Regions from separate parts of the Homo sapiens genome. Here all the other regions are linked to region 2. Evidence: promoter capture Hi-C in 16 types of primary human blood cells and fetal thymus (Javierre and others, 2016). All regions are on one chromosome and are shown on one strand. Each heading gives the region's core, a stretch centred on a gene start or on the middle of the fragment in contact. The rest is flanking DNA. Distances are from core to core; before and after follow the strand shown. Region 1 holds the start of BCL2L2 (BCL2 like 2). Region 2 holds the start of CEBPE (CCAAT enhancer binding protein epsilon). Region 3 overlaps AJUBA (ajuba LIM protein). Region 4 overlaps HOMEZ (homeobox and leucine zipper encoding). Region 5 has its middle 11 kb from the start of PABPN1.

The links. Contacts are between HindIII fragments. The CHiCAGO score rates a contact against its expected background, and 5 or more counts as called.
Region 1: a contact is called between the fragment with the promoter of BCL2L2 here and the fragment with the promoter of CEBPE in region 2, in 2 of 17 cell types (neutrophils and M2 macrophages). The highest score is 8.3, in neutrophils.
Region 3: a fragment that was not itself captured here is called in contact with the fragment with the promoter of CEBPE in region 2 in 1 of 17 cell types (M0 macrophages); the score reaches 5.1 in M0 macrophages.
Region 4: a fragment that was not itself captured here is called in contact with the fragment with the promoter of CEBPE in region 2 in 1 of 17 cell types (neutrophils); the score reaches 5.0 in neutrophils.
Region 5: a fragment that was not itself captured here is called in contact with the fragment with the promoter of CEBPE in region 2 in 1 of 17 cell types (neutrophils); the score reaches 5.1 in neutrophils.

What each region holds. Positions count from the first base shown.
Region 1 is chr14:23,305,425-23,308,124 of GRCh38, forward strand. It overlaps BCL2L2 (BCL2 like 2), which reads left to right and starts at 1,409. Exons shown (of 4, transcript NM_004050.5): 1 at 1,409-1,470; 2 at 1,768-1,855; 3 at 2,336-2,700. The coding sequence starts at 2,344. It overlaps BCL2L2-PABPN1 (BCL2L2-PABPN1 readthrough), which reads left to right and starts at 1,409. Exons shown (of 8, transcript NM_001387346.1): 1 at 1,409-1,470; 2 at 1,768-1,855; 3 at 2,336-2,700. The coding sequence starts at 2,344. RefSeq lists an enhancer at 2,268-2,700. The HindIII fragment of the contact is 2,126 bases long and covers 656-2,700 here.
Region 2 is chr14:23,117,805-23,120,504 of GRCh38, forward strand. It overlaps CEBPE (CCAAT enhancer binding protein epsilon), which reads right to left and starts at 1,451. Exons shown (of 2, transcript NM_001805.4): 1 at 778-1,451; 2 at 1-18. The coding sequence starts at 1,287. RefSeq lists enhancers at 2,090-2,169, 2,250-2,700. The HindIII fragment of the contact is 9,723 bases long and covers 1-2,700 here.
Region 3 is chr14:22,973,588-22,976,287 of GRCh38, forward strand. AJUBA (ajuba LIM protein) reads right to left here. Exons shown (of 8, transcript NM_032876.6): 5 at 1,387-1,517; 6 at 1,252-1,303; 7 at 460-528. Among named protein-coding and RNA genes, the nearest start is that of AJUBA, 7.6 kb to the right of the region's middle. RefSeq lists an enhancer at 1,311-1,811. The HindIII fragment of the contact is 4,841 bases long and covers 1-2,700 here.
Region 4 is chr14:23,278,917-23,281,616 of GRCh38, forward strand. All of the region lies in intron 1 of HOMEZ (homeobox and leucine zipper encoding), which reads right to left. Among named protein-coding and RNA genes, the nearest start is that of HOMEZ, 5.9 kb to the right of the region's middle. RefSeq lists enhancers at 815-1,315, 1,316-1,816. The HindIII fragment of the contact is 9,442 bases long and covers 1-2,700 here.
Region 5 is chr14:23,330,984-23,333,683 of GRCh38, forward strand. No RefSeq gene overlaps it. Among named protein-coding and RNA genes, the nearest start is that of PABPN1, 11 kb to the left of the region's middle. The HindIII fragment of the contact is 4,981 bases long and covers 1-2,700 here.

The DNA.
Region 1 (2,700 bases), core at 159-2,658, 190 kb after region 2:
AAAAAGCACAGCATCTAATAACTCCTCAAAATATGTTAGTTTTTACCTTTTTTTTTTTTTGAGATAGAGTCTCGTTCTATCACCCAGTCTGGAGTGCAGTGGCATGATCTCAGCCTCCTGGGTTCAAGTGATTCTCATGCCTCAGCCTCCTGAGCAGCTGGGATTACAGGCTGGCTAATTTTTGTATTTTACGTCTGGCTAATTTTTGTATTTTTAGTAGAGATGGGGTTTTGCCATGTTGGTCAGGCTGGTCTCGAACTCCTGGCCTCAAGTGATCCACCCGCCTTGGCCTCCCAAAGTGTTGGGATTACAGGTATGAGCCACCGAACCCAGCTAGTTGTTACTGTTATTGCTGCAGAAAAGACCTTGCTTCTCCAGTGACCATAAGGGAAGATGGTAATACAGAGGCTTGGATTGGAGGTAGAAGCAAAGGGAGCTAGCAGAATAGGAGAATTAGGTTGCCTCTTTCTGGCCTTTGGTTGGGGCACTCTTTAAAAAAGTGCCAGATCCAAGAGCCCAGGGGGCTGGCTGTGAGTGCCCTCATGTGGATCAGCTATGGTCAGACTGCTTCACGCCTGTGACCTGCCCTGTATAAATATACTGCCATGTATAAATAATGGCCCCATATATATGTAATCTGGAAGGATAAACATCAAGCTTAACACTGGCAACCTGCAGGGAGGGAAGTGGAATTGGGTGTGTATGTGTGTGTGTGTTTGAGAACCTGTATTTTATTACTCCGCACGTCTTTATTGTTTGATTTTTTTCATAATGAGAATGAGTTTGTGTGTTGGGTAAAAAAAAGAAAAAGAAAAAAACCCCACTAAAATCAATCTAATTACAAAAGAAGATGAATTAAAGAAAAGTACCGAGAGAAACTGCTTGTGATCCAAGTCCTGGCTCCCTAATGCCTGGCTGAAGCCCAGCCCACAAAGAGAACACTGGGTTAAAGGTCCTGGAGAAAAGATGGGAAAGGTTTGGTGTCTATGTGGTGTCTGCTAGCCCCATAAGGGTAAGGCACCTGGTAGACGGTTCCCAGCTTAATGGGAACTGCTCCTGTTTTCCAGGCACACAGTTCAGGGCTGGAAAAGTTCAACAAGTGCATGGAACATCGGAAACCTCCTGAAAATGCTAAATTTGCCCCGAGATGTCCCGAAGTCCGGCATATTTCTCTGGGCAGCCTAGAGGCTCAGGAGCCCAGCCCAGCCCAGCCCACCGTGCCCTCTCAGCCAGCCCTTCTTTGCCTTCAGCAGCCCTCCCTCTTCCTGAGTAGTGGCCCTTTGCAGGCCTGCGTCCCAGCCCCGCCCCTCTCTCTGGACGCATCTCTGGGCCCCATCATCACCCGGCGCCGGGCCCTCCCTCTGCCCCCCCCTTTCTCCTCCCTCCTTCCTTCCCTCCCTTCCTCCCTCTCTCCCTCCCTCCCAGCTCCTGCACCAGGAAACGGCCCGGATCCCGGCAGCGGCCTGACCCGTGAGATCCCTAACCTGGCAGGCGGGCGGGGTTGGAGACTGGCTGAGGTGGGGGTAAGGGAGGAGCTGGGCCTTTGGGCTGCACTAGGGGGAACCGGGAATAGAGATGGTGTCGGCAGGAAGCCCTTGGCCTTGGGTTTCCCGGGAGGACAGTCATTAAACATGGATTCGGCCACACAGCTGGTAGAGCGTTGGGGGCAGGGGCCTAGGCCCAGAGCTGCAACCCTAGCCCTTCCCAGGCCAGAACCTGATCCCTGGCCTTCCCCTCCTGGTTCTGATCTCCCCCTCCCCTTTCCAGGGCTCCACGCTGGCCAGGAGGATGAAAGGCCCCAGCTGGGGGCTCCTTGCCACCAGTGCTGTGTCTTAAGAGCTGCCATCCCGGCTGGGTGAGTGTCTCCTTCCTTTCTCTGTCTGGAGTAACCCATTGCGTCTCCCACCTTTCTCTTCAGCCCATCTGCTCCCCCTCATCTTGTGTCTCTGCCAACATCTTTACATCTTGCATTTGGGGAGGTCCTAAGACCCTTCCTCTAGCCAAGAAGGTGTGGACTAAGGAGACCCGGGGGTGGGGGTGTTGTAGGGGTGTCATTGAGCTGACGTTGTCTTATTGTGAAAAGAATCTAAAGTATCCTAAACAGAAAATTTACTTGTTTTACATTTAATTTGGCATATTAGGAATGTAATGGCCAGCCACTCACAGCCTAGTCTCATATCATGACTTAATTCCCTTGTTCTTGCCTCTCCCTGTCCAGTGAGTCCTGAGCATTTCCTCTCTCCTCCTCATCTCACTGGGTTGGTCAAACCAGAAGTGCTCCTTCTGATTCTCTCTTCATATATTCATGCCAGTCTTTCATCCTTGCCTCTTATAGCCGCCCGGATGGCGACCCCAGCCTCGGCCCCAGACACACGGGCTCTGGTGGCAGACTTTGTAGGTTATAAGCTGAGGCAGAAGGGTTATGTCTGTGGAGCTGGCCCCGGGGAGGGCCCAGCAGCTGACCCGCTGCACCAAGCCATGCGGGCAGCTGGAGATGAGTTCGAGACCCGCTTCCGGCGCACCTTCTCTGATCTGGCGGCTCAGCTGCATGTGACCCCAGGCTCAGCCCAACAACGCTTCACCCAGGTCTCCGATGAACTTTTTCAAGGGGGCCCCAACTGGGGCCGCCTTGTAGCCTTCTTTGTCTTTGGGGCTGCACTGTGTGCTGAGAGTGTCAACAAGGAGATGGAACCACTGGTG
Region 2 (2,700 bases), core at 201-2,700:
GGCAGTGGCCAAAGGGGCCTGGAGGGGAAGGCACGGAGAGACGGAGAGGTGAGGGCTGGCCAGGAGGCAGAGCGGAGGCGGGGCGGGAATCTCGGCAGCCAGGGCACACTTGATGCGTCAAAGGAATACAGGACTCAGAGCCAGCTCCTGTCTCTCAGGTCAAAACTATCATCGCTCTGCTTCTGGGAGATGGTGACCCAGATGCACAGGGTCCTCTGCTTGAGACCAAAACTCCCTTTCATGTTCTCACACTTTCTTTCTTTCTTTTTTTGTAAAGATGGAGCCTTGCTATGTTGTCCAGGCTGGTCTCCAACCCCTGGCCTTAAGCGAACCTCCTGCTTTGGCCTCCCAAAGCGCTGGGATTACAGGCATGAGCCACGACACCCAGCCAATGCTCTCACACTTTCTGAGTACACTTTCCCTCAATCTGCCTTGAGTCTCCCGTTCTATGACCAGTAGACATTTCTCACAGAAGCAGGCGGCAGAGAAACAAGAGGAGGGGGCATGGTGAGCAGCAGAGAGGCTGGCGGTGGGGGCCTGAGATCAAGTAGGTCAGCTTGCCACAGGGGCTTTGGGTGGGGATTCAGGGTGGGAATGAATTCACAGAGAAGGAAAGGGAGGTCATGGTGGGGTGTGAACACAGAGGACTGTGGGTTGGGTCCATTTCACAGAGCGACACCAAGCACAGGCTCAGCAGCATGAGCCGGGGCACAGGGTCCTGTCCACACCAGCCTCTCCAGCCCCGGGCAGGAGGGAGGAGGGCTGGCCTGCTCTTACCTTGAGAACGCGCAGAGGCTGGCCGGGTGCTGCCAGAGTTGGGGGCAGGTGCATGGCTGTCTGCCCACAGTGTGCCACTTGGTACTGCAGGGGATTGTAGCTGCCTCGGCTGGCAGCTCGGCTGCCCTCTGGCCCCCGGGGCTCCTCCTTCACCGCCACAGCCCTGGGGTCGTAGCTCCCTGGGCTGCTGTAGATGCCAGGCCCCAGCGCCTTCCTGTCTGGGCCGAAGGTATGTGGAGGGTAGGCAAAGGGCCGAGGGTCAGGCGGCAAGTAGTGGGGGAAGGCAGGGGTTCCGGGGCCCTTGAGGCCTCTGGCCTCAGGCGCTGGCTTCACGGCAAAGAGATCGGAGAGAAGCTGCTCTTCCCCAGACTCGATGTAGGCGGAGAGGTCAATGGAGGCCTCATGCTCACACATGTCCCCTAGCTCCCCGGGCCCAGCTCGGCCCCCTGAGAACTCGAGTGGCTGCTGGCCACCCCGGGGCTCACACTCGTAGTAGGTCCCGTGGGACATGGCCGGCCCGCCCCCTCGGCTCCCCGCCCCCACCTGCTCTTGAGGCACCCCTTGGGGTGCTCCGGCTGCCCTCTCTCTACCTCCTCCTGACCTGGGCCTGCCCTCTCTCGATCTTCTGCCCTAGACCTGCCCTCTGCAGTCTCCTCTGTCACCCACTCCTGTGTGGCCTCTCTCCCCCCTCTGCTCTGCTTCCTTTTCCTTCCTCTGTAGTCAATGCCTCTCTTCTCTTCCCTTTTTTCCCCTCTCTCCCCTTGGGGTGACTCAGGGAGGGGCAGGACACACCCCAGAGGGAGAGATGTAAGCCTTAGAGAAAGGCGACTCCTGGCCTATTCAGCAGTTGGGGACACTCCTTGGTCAGGGACCAAGCCAGGGTTCTGGAGATGCCCGAAGCTGATGCTTCTGGGAATGCCTCTCCACTCCCTGCTGGGAGGCCAGGGGACTCCAAATCCTCGCAGAGGGCAACACCCCACTCTGAGCAACCTCCTCCCTCCGACTTTGAAAAAGTTCTATGCAGAATGAGGTTCCAAGTTAGAGTGAAGAGAGAAAGCCCTCTTCCAGTGCCTACCCTCAGTTGGGTCTCACCTCCTCCCTTGACACGCCTTCCTCTGGCTCTCCCCTGCTGCTGGGCTCCACCTACCCCCAAGAGAAAGTTTCTTTTGTAGCCCCACCTCCCAGAGCATTCTCTGAGTGTAGGCCAGGGTTTGTTTTTTGAGGGGTCTAGGGAGTAGTGATAGGTCCTAGGAACAAGCTCTACACGCGAGCCTGCGTGGTGCTCCAGAGCATGCTCATTTGCTAGGTTTTTGCACAGGAGCTGTGCAATAGCCCACATGTTAGTGCGTTTCCAGCCCTAGCTACCTCTAGCAGCCTGGTACACTTCCTAACTCCCTGGGCTTGGCCAAAGCACCTGGTCAGGACTTGGGCCTTGCACCGCAGGCCTAGGCAGGTTGCTGCCCTCGGAGTAGACAGCCATAATCCTCCGGTGGCTCCAGCACTTCTCTCTTCCAGCTGCTCTGTGCTGCAAGAGGCTCAGGCTGGTGCTTCGCCCCTCACCCTGGGCCTGAGGCTCTGCCTCTGGTTTCCTGTGCCTGGGCTGCAGGGCTTAGGAGCTTGCTGCAGCTCGTTTGCTGTCTTTCCTTTTGCATGGCCGCTCTCTGATCTCCAATGCGTGTCTCTTGGGTCTACTTCCTCTTGTGAGGTTTGAGAAGCCTCTTATGTCATCACCTCTTCCTGGGGCTCTGTTTTAGGGTCTCCAGGAGAAGCCCATGGCTCCCTCTCTGCAATTCTTTGTTCTGTGCTGGCTCTCCTCTTCCCTTTTCTCTTTCCTTTGGGAACTCCCCACTACCTCCTTTCAGAGACACCTGCTCTGGTACTGCTTTTACCTGTTGAATTTCATCTCCAAAAGGGATTGTAGGT
Region 3 (2,700 bases), core at 40-2,539, 140 kb before region 2:
GTTCACCTCAGCCTAGGCACCTTGGACACTGAGGGTATCTTAGGAGTCTGCCCTGCTCAACACCTGACTCCTAATAACTGGAAGAAAGGGATGGGGTGGGAAGGGAAGGATGGAAGGGATGGAAGAGCAATCTGAGAAAATACTAATACCTCAGCTGGACACCAGGTGTCACTGCTGCAGCAGAAATAATGACACAAGCCTGTCTTTCAAGAAGTTTGACCAGAGTCCCTAGTCTTAGAAAGTCCTGACTCTGGGAGAGTCAGATTCAGAAAGGACTAAGCTACTTGGACCAGAGAGAGTGGCTGGAGGACAAAAAAGAGACTGAAGATAGGTCACAATATCTTTCTGGTTTCCCATGCCCTACACCTCTCCCATAGATGTCTGGTTGTTGCAGGACTTGACTCCTCCCCTCTCCCCATTTCCACTTCTTCTCCAGCACCGCTGAACCCCAACACTCACCTCACAGTGGTAGCACTCAAAGTGATAATCCCGGTCCATGGATATCACCCTCACGATGTCCTCACAGCCCTGAAACATGCAGACCCCCATGGAGATGAGAGCAGCATGTTGCCTCACCTCCACCTTTCCCTCATATACAACCCTTCCCACCCCATGGGAAGATCATACAAATGCCCCCAGAGTCTCTCTGCAATCACCTGTAGTTTTAAGATGCTTCTGCAAATCCTACCAGAACTCTCATCTCCTTCACTGGGCTGCACCCATGGAGCACACTCCCTCTGTACAACAGCCCTGGCCTTACCTGCGTCTCTCAGTTGTGCAGGAAGCAAAGGGAAGGGAAGGGGACAGGAGGCCTAAATAAAGTAGGCTAGGCTGGGAACAAGGGGATCCAATAAGATCTGGTCCTCACTGGCTTTTGGTTTCTCTCCATAGGCACATCCCCTACACTCAGCTTAAATCATTTCTGACCCCTTCCTACCAGTGCTGAGGATTCTTCCCACCTTTTTCCAGCCCCTACATCTGCAGTCTGGTGACCTCGACCTCAAAGAAAGTCTCCTCCTCTGGACTGGGATAGAAGAGATGGAGCCTGGGCCCAGTTAGGCTTTCAGACATGTCCAGGCCCGGATATTAGGGTCAGGGTGGTGACCCCAAGAGGCAGAGTCACACGGGAATCTTCACAGAGTACATTCCTTGGCACTACCACTTCTGGCAGGAGGCCAGGCAGCATGTCCCTATCCCCTCCCCAAAGGCAGTGGCACTGGCTGCCCTGAAGGAGAACCCAGACATACTGACCTCAGAGGGGAGGATGGGTTGGCCACAGGCTGCACACTTAGGAGCATAATTTCTGAAAGAGAGAGGGAAGAGATGAGCTGAGGCTGGGGAATCCCTGGACCCAGTTCCACACTGCATCCCAAGGGGCAGACTCACTTGTGGTAGTCGGTGACACAGTATACTTGGTTGGAGAAGTCCACTGTGAAGGGGATGCCATCCAGGCACTTGTTGCAAACAATGCATCGGAAACAGCCTGGATGATAGGACTTCCCCATTGCTTGTAGGATCTGGCTCATGGGGTAGCAAGAGAATCAGTCTCCCTCCAGTCCCAGCTCTCCAGCTGCCCATTATGCTCCTTATTACTCCCATTAACCTCATCCAACCCGCTGCTATACTCCCAGAACAATGCTATGTAATGTCGGTGAAGAAGTCGTAAAATGGAGGCGGAGACCCTGAAAAGTGCCTGAGAGAGCATTCAGGCCAGCAGTGTTTCACTCTGGCTGCATATCAGGATCACCTAGGCAGCTTTTAAAAAACATCAATGCTTTGGCCCTCCTCCAGGCCTATTATCACAATCTGTGGTGATGGGATCCAAACACTGTTTTTTGTTTTGTTTTGTTTTTTAGTTCTTCCCAGCTGATCTGCTAGGCTACCATGATTGAGAATCACTGATTTAATCCTATCTTTTGTTTTTACAGAAAAGAAAACTGAGTCCCAAGTGATTCTAACCAGTAGCAGAAAGGGGATTAAGACTCAGGACTGGCCGGGCGCGGCGGCTTACGCCTGTAATCCCAGCACTTTGGGAGGCCGAGGTGGGCGGATCACAAGGTCAGGAGATCGAGACCATACTGGCTAACACAGTGAAACCCCGTCTCTACTAAAAACACACCAAAAAATTAGCCGGGCATGTGGCGGGCGCCTGTAGTCCCAGCTAGGCAGGAGAATGGCGTGAACCAGGAGGCGGAGCTTGCAGTAAGCCGAGATCGCACCACTGGACTCCAGCCTGGGCAACAGAGTGAGACTCCATCTCAAAAAAAAAAAAAAGAAGACGACTCAGGACCCCAGGCTGGGCATGGTGGCTCACGCCTATAATCTAGCACTTTGGGAGGCTGAGGCAGGAGGATCACTTGAGGCCAGGAATTCGAGACCAGCCTGGCCAACATGGCAAAACCTTTTATCTACTAAACATACAAAAATTAGCCAGGCATGGTGGCGCATGCCTGTAGTCCTAGCTACTTGGGAGGCTGAGGCACTAGAATCACTTGAACCTGGGAGGCGGAGGTTGCAGTGAGCCGAGATCATTCCACTTTGTCAGAGCGAGACTCTGTCTCAAAAAAAAAAAAAAAAAAAAGACTCAGGACCCCACACTCCTAGCTCAGGCTGGAAGGCCTGGCTGTGCCTGCAGAGTTAGGGAGGGGCTAGGTCATAGAAGCCTGGGTTGACAGGCTTTTGAGCCCAGACTTGATCCCA
Region 4 (2,700 bases), core at 17-2,516, 160 kb after region 2:
CCACCGGCCTCGGCCTCCCAAAGTGCTGGGATTACAGGCGTGAGCCACGGCGCCTGGCCAGAATTGTTAATAACTATTTTTTTTTTTGAGACAGAGTCTTTCTGTCACCCAGGCTGGAGTGCAGTGGCGTGATCTTGGCTCACTGCAACCTCCACCTCCCGGGTTCAAGTGATTCTCCTGCCTCAGCCTCCTGAGTAGCTGGAATTACAAGCGTGCACCATGATGCCCAGCTAATTTTTGTACTTTTAGTAGAGACGAAGTTTCACTATTGTTATAAATAAAGTTTCGGTGCCACAAAAGAAATAGCAATCGAATATAAAATTTTCTTTTTTTTTTCTTCTCAGTAGGGCAATTTACTTCTATAGAAGGGTGCGCCCTCATAGATGGAGCAGTGGTGAGCACACACCTGGACAAAAGAGGGGAAGAAGTTCTTATTCCTGACACAGGTGGCCCCTGCCGCTGTCATTCCCATATTGGCTAGGGTTAGACCGCACAGGCTAAACTAATTCCGATTGGCTAATTTAAAGAGAGTGACCGGGTGAGTGGTTTGGTGGGGAAAATGGTTATGGCAGAGCAGGAAATCGGAAGGAGTCAGGGTGGAGAATGAGTCAGGGCAGAGCAGGTAATCGGAATGAGTCAGGGTGGAGCAGGTGATCGAAAAAGGTTGCTTTACAAGGAAGTTAAGTTTAAAAGTAGAAGGCAAAGAATTGAACATACTGACATATTGATTCTTTGAAGAGAAATTTAGAACTCATATCTAATGCTATGTTGGCCAGGCTGGTCTCGAACTCCTGACCTCAGGTGATCCACCTGCCTTGGCCTCCCAAAGTGCTGGGATTACAGGCATGAGCCACCGCGCCTGGCCACTATTTTTTTTTAGAGACAAGTTCTCGTTATGTTGCCCAGGCTGGCGTGCTATGCATAGGTGCAATCATAATGCACTACAGCCTCGAATTCCTGGGATCAAGTGACCCTCCTGCCTCAACCTCCTGAGTAGTTAGAACTACAGGTGCACAACATTGTTCCTGGCTTGTTACTAACTCTTTGGCTGCTAACAATTTATATTTAGAATGTGGATCAACAGATTGGGAATACAACTGATGAATATCTGGAAGGTAGGACAGCACTGTCCTCTGCCCAGCCCCCCTTTTTTCTTTCCCTTCTTGGTGGTGGAGTGTTGGGGGAAGGCGACTGACAGTACCTTTAAGCCCTAAGCCCAAACCTGATAGCTTTATTTTTTCCATCTCTTGGTTGGATGAGAGACATGGGTCAGAGATTGGGGATAAATGAGGCTCACTCCCCTAACCCTTTAGGTCATGTGAAAATAGAGAGGGGAATGTTTCCTCCTCCAAGTCAGCCTTGGAACAAAGGTTATCCCCTCCCCCAGCCTTTGTCTCTTCCAACAGCTCAGCTTCTCCCCAGGGAGCCCAGAAAGCTCCCTCAGTCACTAACAGCCCCCTCCACACAGGGCAGAAGGTCTCCTGAGCTTAACTTTTCAGCCCAGCTTTCTCCTCAAGACCAGGTGGACAGGCTCATTATAAATTGTAACCAGCTCCTGCAAGCTACCCAGCAGCACCACTGCTCCCAGGATTATGGGTATGGGGACTGCAGGAATAGCCTTTGACTGTGCTGCTTTCCTGAAATAACTGCTCAAGTTATTTCCCAGAATATTCTGTTGACAATTTTTAACTCAGCTCCCTGTGTGGGCACTAGAGACCCTTTAACACATCCATCACCCTTTACTCTTAGGGGAATCACATCTGTTATATTTTATTTTTATTTTTATATTTTTATTTTTATTTTATTTTATTTTATTTTATTTTATTATTTTATTTTATTTTATTTTATTTTATTTTATTTTATTTTATTTTATTTGGAGACGGAGTCTTGCTCTGTCGCCAGGCTGGAGTGCAGTGGCACGATCTTGGCTCACTGCAACCTCCGCCTCCTGGGTTCAAGTGATTCCCTTGCCTCAGCCTCCTGAGTAGCTAGGACTACAGGCGCACGCCACCACACCTGGCTTTTTTGTATTTTAGTAGAGACAGGATTTCACCATGTTGGCCAGGATGGTCTTGATCTCCTGACCTCGTCATCTGCCTGCCTCAGCCTCCCAAAGTGCTGGGATTTCAGGCGTGAAACACCGGGCCCAGCCTTCTATCTGTGTTTTTAAGTATTACTCCTGATCTGCTAAGGACAGGACAGGATTCCTATGTAAATGCTACACGATGAATTGCAAAAATAAACCTCAAGTCCATACATTTAGAGCAATGTGATCGCAGGGATTTTACACCATGATTTTTAAAATTCAGAAGCATTTTAATACGTGTCACCATTTCCTTTTAACAAGCAAATCTAACTAACTGAGGCCACGCAGACCCTGAAAGCAATACTGCTTGAAGAGCCCCTTAAGAGGGTCAATGGAGGCAGCATGGCATGACGGGTAGAAATATGAATTCTTCAATAAGGCCAACCTCTGAGTTTGAATCCCGGTTCTGCCACTTATCAGCTATGTGATCTCAGGCAAGTTACTTAACTTACATGAGCCTGGTTTCCTCCTATGTAACAAAGTGAAGACAGTGCAGAGAGTACGTAAGAGTACTACGTGCTAGGTGTTATGCATAGGCAGGGCATAGAGCAAATGTTAGGGGATGGATGTCCGGGGTGAGACAAATTAATGCAACTCCACTTCCTAGAATGCTG
Region 5 (2,700 bases), core at 134-2,633, 210 kb after region 2:
GAGCCATCGCGCAGGGCCAGAATTTTATTATATTTTATTTTTTGTAAAGATGAGATCTTGCTATGTTGCCCAAGCTGGCCTCAAACTCCTGGGCTCAAGTGATCCTCCCACCTCAGCCTCACAAAGTGCTTGGATTACAGGCATAAGCCACCATGCCTGGCCCAGTATTCCTTTTTATGGCTGACTAGTATTTCATTGGATATAACACATTTTGTTTCCATCATCAACTGATGGACATTTGGGTTGTTTCTATTTTTTTGGCTATTACAAATAGTCTGGCTCCAAACAACTGTATAAGTTTTTGTATGAACATATGTTTTCATTTCTCTTGGGTATATACTTAAGAATGGAGTTGCTGGGTCATACTGTGCTATGGTTTGAGTGTTTGCACCTCCACCACAATCCATATGCTGAAATCCTAACCCCCAAAGTGATGATATTAGCAGTTCGGGACTTATGGGAGGTCATTAGTTCATAGGAGAAGCCCCAAGAGCTACCTTGCCCTTTTACATCACGTGAGGATACAGTGAGAAGGTACCATCTATGAACCAGGAAATGGGATCTCACCAGATATTAAATCTGCCAGAACCTTGATATTGGGCTTCCCAGTCCCCAGAACTGCAACAAATAAACTTCTGTTGCTTGTAAGCCACCCAGTCTACCTTATTTTGTTACAGCAGCCCAGATGAATGGACTAAGACCCATGGTAACTATCTTTAACCTTTTGAGGAACTGCCAGACTGTTTTCCAAAGCAGCTGCATCATTTTACATTTTCACCAGCAATGTATGAGGCTTCTGGTCTCTTTACATCCGCACCAAACTTGTTATTGTCAATCTCTTTGGCTATAGCCATCCTAGAGGGTATGAAGAGGTATCTCATCGTAGTTTTAATTTGCATTTGTCTGATGACTCAAAGATGTTTAGCATCTTTTCATGTGCTTATTTGCCATTTGTATGTATGTGTGTGTGTGTATATATATATATTCAGATTCTTTGCCTTTTTTCTTTTTTGAGACTGGGTCTCACTCTGTCCCTCAGGGTGGAGTGCGGTGGCCCAATCACGGCTATTCACAGCCTCAACCTCCCCAGGCTTAGGTGATCTTCCTACCTCAGCCTCTTGAGTAGCTGGGACTACAGGTGCGTGCCACCACGCCCGCCTAGTTTTTAATTTTTCTAGAAATGGGGTTTCGCCATGTTGCCCAGGCTGCTCTTGAACTCCTGTCTCAAGCAATCTGCCCGCCTCAGCCTCCCAAAGTGCTGGGGTTACGGGGATGAGCCACCAAGCCTGGTCCTCATTTTTAAAGTAGATTGTTTTCTTGCAAGACTTCTTTTTAATTTAAAAAATTTTTTTTTTTTTATTTTTAGAGATGAGGTGTTGCTATGTTGCTCAGGCTAGCGTACACAGGCATGGTACTCCAGTGCATGCCATAGTGCACTTCAGACTTGAACTCCTGGCATTAGGCAAACCCTCTGCCTCAGCCTCCCCAACAGCTGGGACTACAGGTATGCATCAGCATGCCCAGCCTTCCTTTGCTGAATACTGAATACTGAAGACTAGACTTATCAGATATATGATTTGCAAATATTTTCTTCCATTTTGTGGGTTCTTTGCTTGCTTTTTTTTTTTTTGAGATGGAGTCTCGCTGTTGCCCAGGCTGAAGTGCAGTGGCGCGATCTCGGCTCCCTGCAAGCTCTGCCCCCCAGGGTTCACGCCATTCTCCTGCCTCAGCCTCCCGAGTAGCTGGGACTACAGGCGCCCGCCACCTTGCCTGGCTAATTTTTTGTATTTTTAGTAGAGACGGGGTTTCACCGTGTTAGCCAGGATGGTTTCGATCTCCTGACCTCGTGATCTGCCCGCCTCGGCCTCCCAAAGTGCTGGGATTACAGGCGTGAGCCACCGCGCCCGGCCCAGTTCTTTGCTTTCTTGACAGCATCTTTTGAAGCACAAAAGTCATGAAGATGTGTCTATATTTTCTACTGAGAGTGTTATAGTTTTAGCTCTTATGTTTAGGTCTTTGATCCATTTTGAGTTTTTTTTAAAAATATTTATTTATTTATTGAGACAGAGTCTCACTCTGTCACCCAGGCTGGAGTGCAGTGGTGCTATCTCGGCTCACTGCAACCTCTGCCCACTGGATTCAAGCAATTCTCATGCCTCAGCCTCCTGAGTAGCTGGGATTACAGGTGCCTGCCACCACGCCCAGCTAATTTTTGTATTTTTAGTAGGGACAGGGTTTTACCATGTTGGCCAGGCTGGTCTCGAACTCCTGACCGCAAGTGATCTGCCCGCTTCAGCCTCCTGAAGTGCTGGATTACAGACATCCCGCCCTTGAATTTATTTTTGTTTATGGTATAAGACAGGGGTCCAGTTCTCTTCTTTTGCATGTGGATATCCAGTTGTCCCAGTATCATTTGTTAAAAAGACTTCTTTTCCCATTAAATTGTCTTGGTCCCTGTTTTGTAAATCAATTGACCAGTCTCTGGACTCTCAATTCTGTTCCATTGATTTTCGTGTTTGTCCTTATGGCAGTACCACACTGTCTATATTACTGTAGCTTTGTAATAAATTTTGAAATTTTAGGAGTGTGAGTCCGCCAATTTTGCTCTTTTTCAAGATTATTCAGCTAGTCTGGGTCTTTTGCATTTCCATGTCAATTTTAGAATCAGCTTATCAGTTTCTGAAAAAAGACAGCTGGGAC